Linked DNA regions of Homo sapiens: all the other regions are linked to region 1. Evidence: promoter capture Hi-C in 16 types of primary human blood cells and fetal thymus (Javierre and others, 2016). All regions are on one chromosome and are shown on one strand. The core of a region is centred on a gene start or on the middle of the fragment in contact, and the rest is flanking DNA. Distances in the headings are between cores, read along the strand shown.

Region 1 (2,667 bases), core at 106-2,605:
TTTCATCTCCTGGGCCTGATTAAACAAGATTATTTTCGTGTGCTATTTATCAGTAGACGATCACAATGAAATGTGCATACGACAGTTTACTGCCTCAATCACATATTGCAAATCAAAAAAACTAGAATGCCGTTTTGCTGGGGCCTCCTTAGTTTCTCTTCTATTTCATTCTTTCCTTTCCTTTTATTCCACATTATTTTACATTTTCCCATAAGTCATCCATAATTCAATCTCAGTCTAGAAGAGTAAATTCGATTACTCGGCGGCTAAACATCGTGTGCCTTCTCAGAAACAAGAGAACTTGTAAAACAAAAACAAAAACAACTTAAAAAAACAAAAACAACCAACAACCACCAAAAAAACAAAGGCATGAAAAGTTGGAACCTATCGGGAGGCTCTTGGAAACTTGGGCAGCTTCCTTTCTCTGTTCAGGATTTAGATTTCTATCTCACGTTACTTTGCGAACAGCTTCGCCTGTGAATCTCCCCCTACACCTCTGGGCACCGGTGCCAATTCCTTCCCTTCCCTTCCCCAGTAGCCCCACACAGTATAGAGGAGCTTATTTTCTAAGACTGCACCGGTGTCAGAGGTGACGTGAGAGTTTCTAACCGAATGGCGTTTTAGAAATAGGAACGGGAAACACAGAAACGGCTGAGGAGCGACCCCGTGGAGCAGACAGGCACAGCCCGGGAGCGGCGGACGCCAGCGCCGGCGCCGCAGGGAGCGCGTGCGGGGCTCCGCGGGGCCGCCTCCCGCGACTTCAGCAGGGGCCGCGGCCGCGCTCCCGGGCCGGTGGGCTGAGGCAGGCAGAGGCCGCCATATTCCTGTCTCACCACGCCCGGCCGGACGGCAGCCGCAGGTCGGCTGCGGCCCTGGCACGCAACGGCGGCCGCCGGCTCGGGCTGCGCGTCGGCGGCCGGGTCTGGCCCCGACTTCGGCCGGGGGCGGCCGTGACTGCTGCGCCCGCGGACTCTGCCGAGGGTGCGGGAGCAGTAGGCGTCCGCAGAGCCCGCGGGGGCCGGCCCAGCCCGGGAGCCGCGCGGGCGAGGCGAGAGCCGCACTGGGAGGCGCGCCGCGGCGGCCGCGAGCCCAGGAAAGCCTTCCAGGAGGGGCCGGGCGGCACCGCCTCCCGGCTCCCTCCTCCCGCGCCCATCCCCTCCGCCTCTTCCTCCTCCTCCTTTCGCCGCCGCCTCCTCCCTCCCGGATCTGTGCTCCAGTTCAGAGAAAGAAGAAAATGTGTGTGTGTGGCGAGGGGGAGGGCTCGCACTGAGCAGCCGCTCCGCGCCTGGCAATCGGGGCAGGGGGTGGGCGTCTGGCGGGGGCGGGGGCGGAGGCGGAGGCGGAGGAGCGCGCGGTTGCCGGGCGGGACGGGAACCGGGTCTGCGCGCGAGCCGGGCGGTGGGCGCGGACAGGGCCGAGGGCGCCCGGGAGCCGTGTCAGGCGGCGGCGAGGAGCGGGCGCGCCGGGCGCGGGGAGCCGTCGGCGGCCGCTCGCTGCGGGGACACCCCGGTGAATGAGCTCTCGCCGCCAGGCGCACGGCGTAGGGGAGCCTCGCAGGCGGCGGCGGCGGCGGCGGCTCGGGGGGCGAGGCGGGCCGCCTGTTCCCGGGGAAGGAGGCGCGGGCGTCTGAGCGAGGCCGGGCGCGGCGGCCTTCTCTCACGCGCCCCCCGAGCCAGCGCCCGCCTCCCGCGCCCGCCTCTCTTCTCCCGTCGGCCCAGACTATCCGCTCCCACCGCGCCCCCGGCCCACCTGGTGGCCCCGGCCCTGGCCGCCGCCCCCGCGGCGGTTCCCGGAGCTCGTCCCGGACGCGCGCCCGGGCGGCGGGGGCTCGGCGGCCACCGCTGCCTCGGGGGAGCGAGGGCGGGAGGGTGTGTGTGCGCGCTGTGAGCAGGGGGTGCCGGCGGGGCTGCAGCGGAGGCACTTTGGAAGAATGACTCTGGAGTCCATCATGGCGTGCTGCCTGAGCGAGGAGGCCAAGGAAGCCCGGCGGATCAACGACGAGATCGAGCGGCAGCTCCGCAGGGACAAGCGGGACGCCCGCCGGGAGCTCAAGCTGCTGCTGCTCGGTGAGTACCGTCCGGGGCCCCGCCGGGCCTCTGCGCCCCCAGCCCACCATCCTTGGCCCTGCGGGGCAGCTGCCTTCGGCGCCCCCGCCCCCCGGCGCCCGCGGTTCGCCCCTACCCTCCCGGGCGCGCCCCCGGCCACTGCCTTCACCCGCGCGGGCGCGCGGGCGCGTTACACACAGACACACACACACACACACACACACACACACACAGCGACACACACACGCAGCACAGGGGTCGGGGCTGCCCTGCCCGGTGCCTTGGCTTGTTCCTTTTCGTGTCCCTGAGGGCTGTACCTTATCTGCTGTGCATCTGCTAAATGGCAGATCACTCCGACCAGAGGCGCGGGGGTGGAAAGGTGGGCAGAGGGGTTGAACTTCCAGTGTCGTGGCCGCGGCACCCCATGGGGTGGTGGCGTGGGGAGCCGTGTGTGTGGCCCAGCGGGTGGCGAGCGGAGCCGGGGCACGTTGGGGGATGGCCTGCGGTGGAGTGGCCGGTGTGCATCCATTATCAGTGCCCTATGGGGTCAGGAGGGAATGGGGGAACGGTGGGCAGACTCGCAGCTGGATTCCCGGAGCACTCATGGTGAGGAAGCCAAGTG
Region 2 (2,667 bases), core at 111-2,610, 320 kb after region 1:
TGGCAGGGATGCTGGAATTCTTACAGCAGGAATTTAAAACATTTATTATTAATATGCTAAGGGCTCTAATGGAAAAAGTAGACAACCTGCAAGAACAAATGGGCAATGAAAGCATAAAGGAAGAAATTCTAAGAAAAAAGAAAAGGAATAATAGAAATCAAAAACACTGTAATAGAAATTAAGTATGCCTTTGATGGCTTCGTTAGTAGACTGGACATGGCTGAGGAAAGAATCTTTAAGCCTGAAGATATGTCAGTAGAAACTTCCAAAACTGAAAAGCAGAGAGAGAAGAAAAAAAAAAAAAACACTAAAAAACAAAACAAAGGGTTTCATTTTGGGGTGATAAAAATCCTTAAACTCAGATAGTAGTGACTTCTGCTTTCTGGTCTGGCATATAAGGAGCTTGGCAGTTACAACTCCACCCTAAGAAGAACTAAAAAGCGGAACAAACTGAAAAACCAATAACTCTTCTTAGATCCCTCAGAGAAGTGAAGTCACAGGGTAAACCATTGTCCTCAAACTGGAGAGACAGGCAAATACAGAGAATCACTACTTATGGAAGCAGAAACCCAGGAGAAAAAGCCTCTACCAAAACCAGTGCCAGGATGCAAAAACCTAAACAGTAATTGATGCATTTTGGAAGGTTCAATGTGTACAACTCTGAGAGTTGAAACTCCAGACTACCCAGTCATGGGAGACACTCATACTTTGGCGAGTTTTAATTCCAGGAGCTCAAGCAGGCTCTCACAGTGATTATCAGGGGAAAATCCCCTCATGCTTCTGGTAGAAGGAGGGGGAAATGAAGCATTTTGAAATATGCCAGACCATCCTGTTTGTCTTAACAAGGCCTGTCCTCAAGAGAAACTTTTTTTTTTTTTTTGAGACGAAGTCTTGCTCTGTCACCCAGGCTGGAGTGCAGTGGCGCGATCTCGGCTTACTGCAAGCTCCGCCTCCCAGGTTCACGCCATTCTCCTGCCTCAGCCTCCTGAGTAGCTGGGACTACAGGCACCCACCACCATGCCCGGCTAATTTTTTGTGTGTGTGTGTATGTTTAGTAGAGGCAAGGTTTCACCGTGTTAGCCAGGATGGTCTCGATCTCCTGACCTCGTGATCCACCCAACTCAGCCTCCCAAAGTGTTGGGATTACAGGTGTGAGCCATCACGCCCAACCAAGAGAAACTTTTTATCAGAGCCTAAACTATTCAGATTTTACCAGAGTCTAACCAACCTGGAGAAAGGGAAATACCTAACTGCAGCACACACTGGCCATCCTGTCCTGCTGAAGGACGGGAAGAAGATTGAGAAGCATGTGTAAAGTTCAGAGTCCAGAGGTACAGACTCTCTGTAAGACTGACACTTAATCATAGGAACATAAAAAGCCTCCTTTTCCCCCATGTTACTAAAGGCCTCTATGCAGCAGTTCCTTTCATCTACTGCATCATGAACAGATATCAAGAAAAAAATTACAAGGCATACTAGAAGGAAAAAAACACACAGTATGAAGTGACAGAGCAAGCAAGATGAGACTCAAATATGTCAGGGATGTTGGAATTTTCAGAGTAGAAATTTAAAACAACTATGACTAATATGCTAAGGGCTCTAGTGGATACACAGTAGAGAATGTGTGAGAACAGATGGGAAATGTAGGCACAGAGACTGAAATTCCAAGAAAGCATGAAAAGAAAATGATAGAGATAAAAAACACTTTAACAGAAATAAAGAATGCCTTTGAGTAGTAGGCTAGACATAGACGAGGAAAAAGATGCAGAGTTTGAGAATATCTCAATAGAAACTTCTGAAACTGAAAAGAAAAAAAAAAGACTAAGAAAAAAAGAACAGAATATCCTAGAACTGTGGGGCAACTACAAAAGTTATAATAGGTATAATGGGGATACCACAAGGAGAATAAAGAGAGAAAGAAATAGAAGAAGTTTTTGAAGTAATGAATGATACTTCCCCATTTTCTGCAAATTAATGTTAGACACCAAACCACAGATCTAACAAGCTCAGAGAACACCAAGCAGGATGAATGCCAAAAAACACCCCACAACTACACATATACATATGATATTCAAACTGTGAAAAATCAAAGGTAAAGAAAAAATCTTGAAAGAATCTAGAGGAAAAAAAAGATGTTACCTACAGAGTAGCAATAATTGTCCCTTAGTCTGAATCTTCTGCAGAATGACTTGTGTTTCATAAATAGCTCAAGACTTTCAAAAGCAGATACTTGAAATCATGAGTTCTCCAAGAAATAGATGTGTTTTGAGAAAATAAATGATGTGGACAGCAAACTATGCGAAGCACATTCTTTAAGCATTAGTGCAGTCGAGTGATGATGAAACACCAAATGGACCAAGTGCACACTGACTTCTACCTATTGGCTTCCTGCCCCACCATGACACAGGCCTTGCTTTCAGCTAAGCCTGCAAGCTGCTCTTGTAACCCTAACCTTCCTGATGTCAATTATCCAGTAAAATAATACTCAAGTGGATATCAAAATTAATACCTTCCTTTCGTGGACATATTGTTTCTACCCTGTATTGTCTCTCGGAATCAGTCATCCTGAATACAAATATTAAAGATTTTGTTCCTCAGTCATTCCCCTAGTTCACACAGCCAACAATCTAACTCTTTGGCAGGGAAATCTTAGCCCAGTGAACTAAA
Region 3 (2,667 bases), core at 88-2,587, 300 kb after region 1:
AGCATGCCCATACATCCTGGCTTTTATCTCCTCATGGGAAGGAGAATTCCCAAATCTGCTGCCTTCATCTGTAACCCAAGTGTAGGAATGATTTAGAGAGGTGAGTCTATGGGAGAAAGAATGGTAAGGAGAGACGAAAGAAGCTCTGAGGCCCTCTAGTTTTTGGCTGATATGTTTTTTTTTTCAGAGGAATGATTTAACTCAGGAACAGCCTCAAATAGCATCTTCATTTATAGTAGCAAGCTGACTAATTTTCTTCAGAATCCATTTAGGGTTTCTGTTACCAAGGTAGGCTTGAAAGTGTAGCTTCAGGTGAGAACACTTACTCACAGATGCTGAAAGTGAGAAATATTACATTTTTATCTCCACATAATTACTATGTGTGTCTTCACAATTCTATATTAATAGTATAGTGAAACATAGGGAGAAAGCATGCACTCATGAACAGGAAATGTTTGATCTTACAACATTTTCCATGTGTTTATAAAGGGTGTGTGTATGTGTGTGTGTAGAGTAATAACTCTAGAAAACATCTAGAAATATAGATATGCTTTTGACAAAGAAGTAACTGTTTTGATTGCTTAGAATAGAGTTAATTGTGAGGCCCCAAATAAATATAGCTTAAGAAATACAAAATGAAGCCATATCTAGTCCTTAGTTCAGATCTCAAATATTTAGTCATTAATGAATGATTTTTGATGGGAATTTATGACAGTGTTCCAGATTCACAACATGATTCTCTAGGCTTTCAATTATTTTCTCTTTCAACCGTAAGAGCTATTTTAGCTGATTTTTATTATTATTACTCTCTTCTGCTTGTCAGCCTGAGAGTTTGCATAATGAAAACAGCCAATGTGTGTCATGAATCATTTGCATATAAATCCTGACAAATCCAACACAGGGCTACAAAAACTGGTCGTATACAAAAGATGGGTTGGACTTATAAAATAAACACAATTCACAAATTAAGTAATCATGTAATTCACTCCTTGTTTTTTCTGATTTTTTTTTTTTTTCCAGAACCGAATGGAGGAAAGCAAGGCTCTCTTTAGAACAATTATCACATACCCCTGGTTCCAGAACTCCTCGGTTATTCTGTTCTTAAACAAGAAAGATCTTCTAGAGGAGAAAATCATGTATTCCCATCTAGTCGACTACTTCCCAGAATATGATGGTAAGTCAGCACTCATACCACAGCTCAGTAGCTGTGAATAGGTTTTGTCTCCAAACCCCAGTGTGGGAGTTAACGCACTACAGTGCACCATTGCTGCCCTTGCCCTGTGCAGCCTGCGTGTTGAAACTGATACAGTAGGAATTCTTGTTTGCCCTGTCTTTTAGTGACACAAAACATTGCATTCCTTAACAATGCTAAAAGTCATAGAAAAAGAAACTCATGGCTGGGCACAGTGGCGAGCGCCTGTAATCCCAGCACTTTGGGAGGCCGAGGCAGGCGGATCACGAGGTCAAGCGATCGAGACCATCCTGGTCAACATGGTGAAACCCCGTTTCTACTAAAAATATAAAAATTAGCTGGGCGTGGTGGCAGGCACCTGTAGTCCCAGCTTCTCGGGAGGCTGAGGCAGGAGAATTGCTTGAACCCGGGAGGCGGAGGTTGCAGTGAGCCAAGATCGCGCCACTGCACTCCAGCCTGGCAACAGAGCAAGACTCTGTCTAAAAAAAAAAGAAAAGAAACTCATCTGCTTTGAAATAGCAGATCAGAAAAAGGAACAATCCAGTAGTTTTGACCAATTGTGTATTAACTCTTATAGTCCCCTCTGTGTCTCCCTTTCATTTGGTTACCGTCCACCTCTGCCTCTCCTCTCTCTGGGGAGGAACACAATTTTGAAGTTAAGAGCCCACCACTGAAATCAGTCTATCAAGGTTGAGATCCCAGTTCTGACACTTCCTATTTGTAGAACTACCATCAAGTCACTTGATTTTTCTGGGCCTTACGACCAAACTCATAGGATTGTTTTGTGCACTGTAGTATATAACATATGTGTACGTTTAGCATGATGCCTGACACGTAGGACACTTATGAATACTCAGGAAATACTTCCTTTTTTGAAACTTCATAGCCCAATGAAGTCCCACCACCATTACTAATAGTAACCCAGTGTTAAGCTCTTTGTGCAGCACTTAGAATCTATAGCATCCACTTCACTACTCCTATGGCTCTGCATTATTTGCTTTGTTCTTAGAAAAGGATCTTACCCTCCCCAACTAGACTGTGAAATCCTGGACAACTAGACACCCAACCCATTCTGAGAAACACTTGAACACTTGGTGATTGGTAACAAAATGCATCCACATGTAGCCACTATGTAAAACAAGTGAGAGTCACGACTGCTGCCCTATAAGAGTCTATGTGGCCAGGTGTGGTGATTCACACCTGTAATCCCAGCACTTTGGGAGACTGAGGTGAGAGGATCACTTGAGCACAGGAGTTCAAGCCCAGCCTGGGCAATGTAACGAGACCTCTATCTATAAAAAATGAGGCAGGAGTTGGCAAGAGGTCAAGACTGCAATGAGCCATGATCCTGCCACTATACTCCTGCCTGGGTGATGGGAGACCCTGTCTCAAAAAAAAAAAAAAAAAAGTTTATTTATTTGGCAAGATAATCACATCTCTCCCTTATGGCCCACCACCTGGTTTTATGAATAAAG

Evidence for each region. The method cuts DNA at HindIII sites, captures the fragments that hold promoters and counts their contacts. A CHiCAGO score of 5 or more calls a contact.
Region 2: a contact is called between a fragment that was not itself captured here and the fragment with the promoter of GNAQ in region 1, in 2 of 17 cell types (neutrophils and monocytes). The highest score is 7.2, in neutrophils.
Region 3: a fragment that was not itself captured here is called in contact with the fragment with the promoter of GNAQ in region 1 in 5 of 17 cell types (total CD4 T cells, activated CD4 T cells, fetal thymus and 2 more); the score reaches 6.7 in total CD4 T cells.

The regions. Positions count from the first base shown.
Region 1 is chr9:78,030,499-78,033,165 of GRCh38, reverse strand. GNAQ (G protein subunit alpha q) reads left to right here and starts at 1,355. Exons shown (of 7, transcript NM_002072.5): 1 at 1,355-2,066. The coding sequence starts at 1,931. RefSeq lists an enhancer at 1,272-2,166. The HindIII fragment of the contact is 11,535 bases long and covers 1-2,667 here.
Region 2 is chr9:77,707,555-77,710,221 of GRCh38, reverse strand. No RefSeq gene overlaps it. Among named protein-coding and RNA genes, the nearest start is that of GNA14, 61 kb to the right of the region's middle. RefSeq lists enhancers at 488-537, 2,195-2,489. The HindIII fragment of the contact is 4,148 bases long and covers 1-2,667 here.
Region 3 is chr9:77,727,021-77,729,687 of GRCh38, reverse strand. It overlaps GNAQ (G protein subunit alpha q), which reads left to right. Exons shown (of 7, transcript NM_002072.5): 6 at 1,021-1,174. Among named protein-coding and RNA genes, the nearest start is that of GNA14, 80 kb to the right of the region's middle. The HindIII fragment of the contact is 3,517 bases long and covers 1-2,667 here.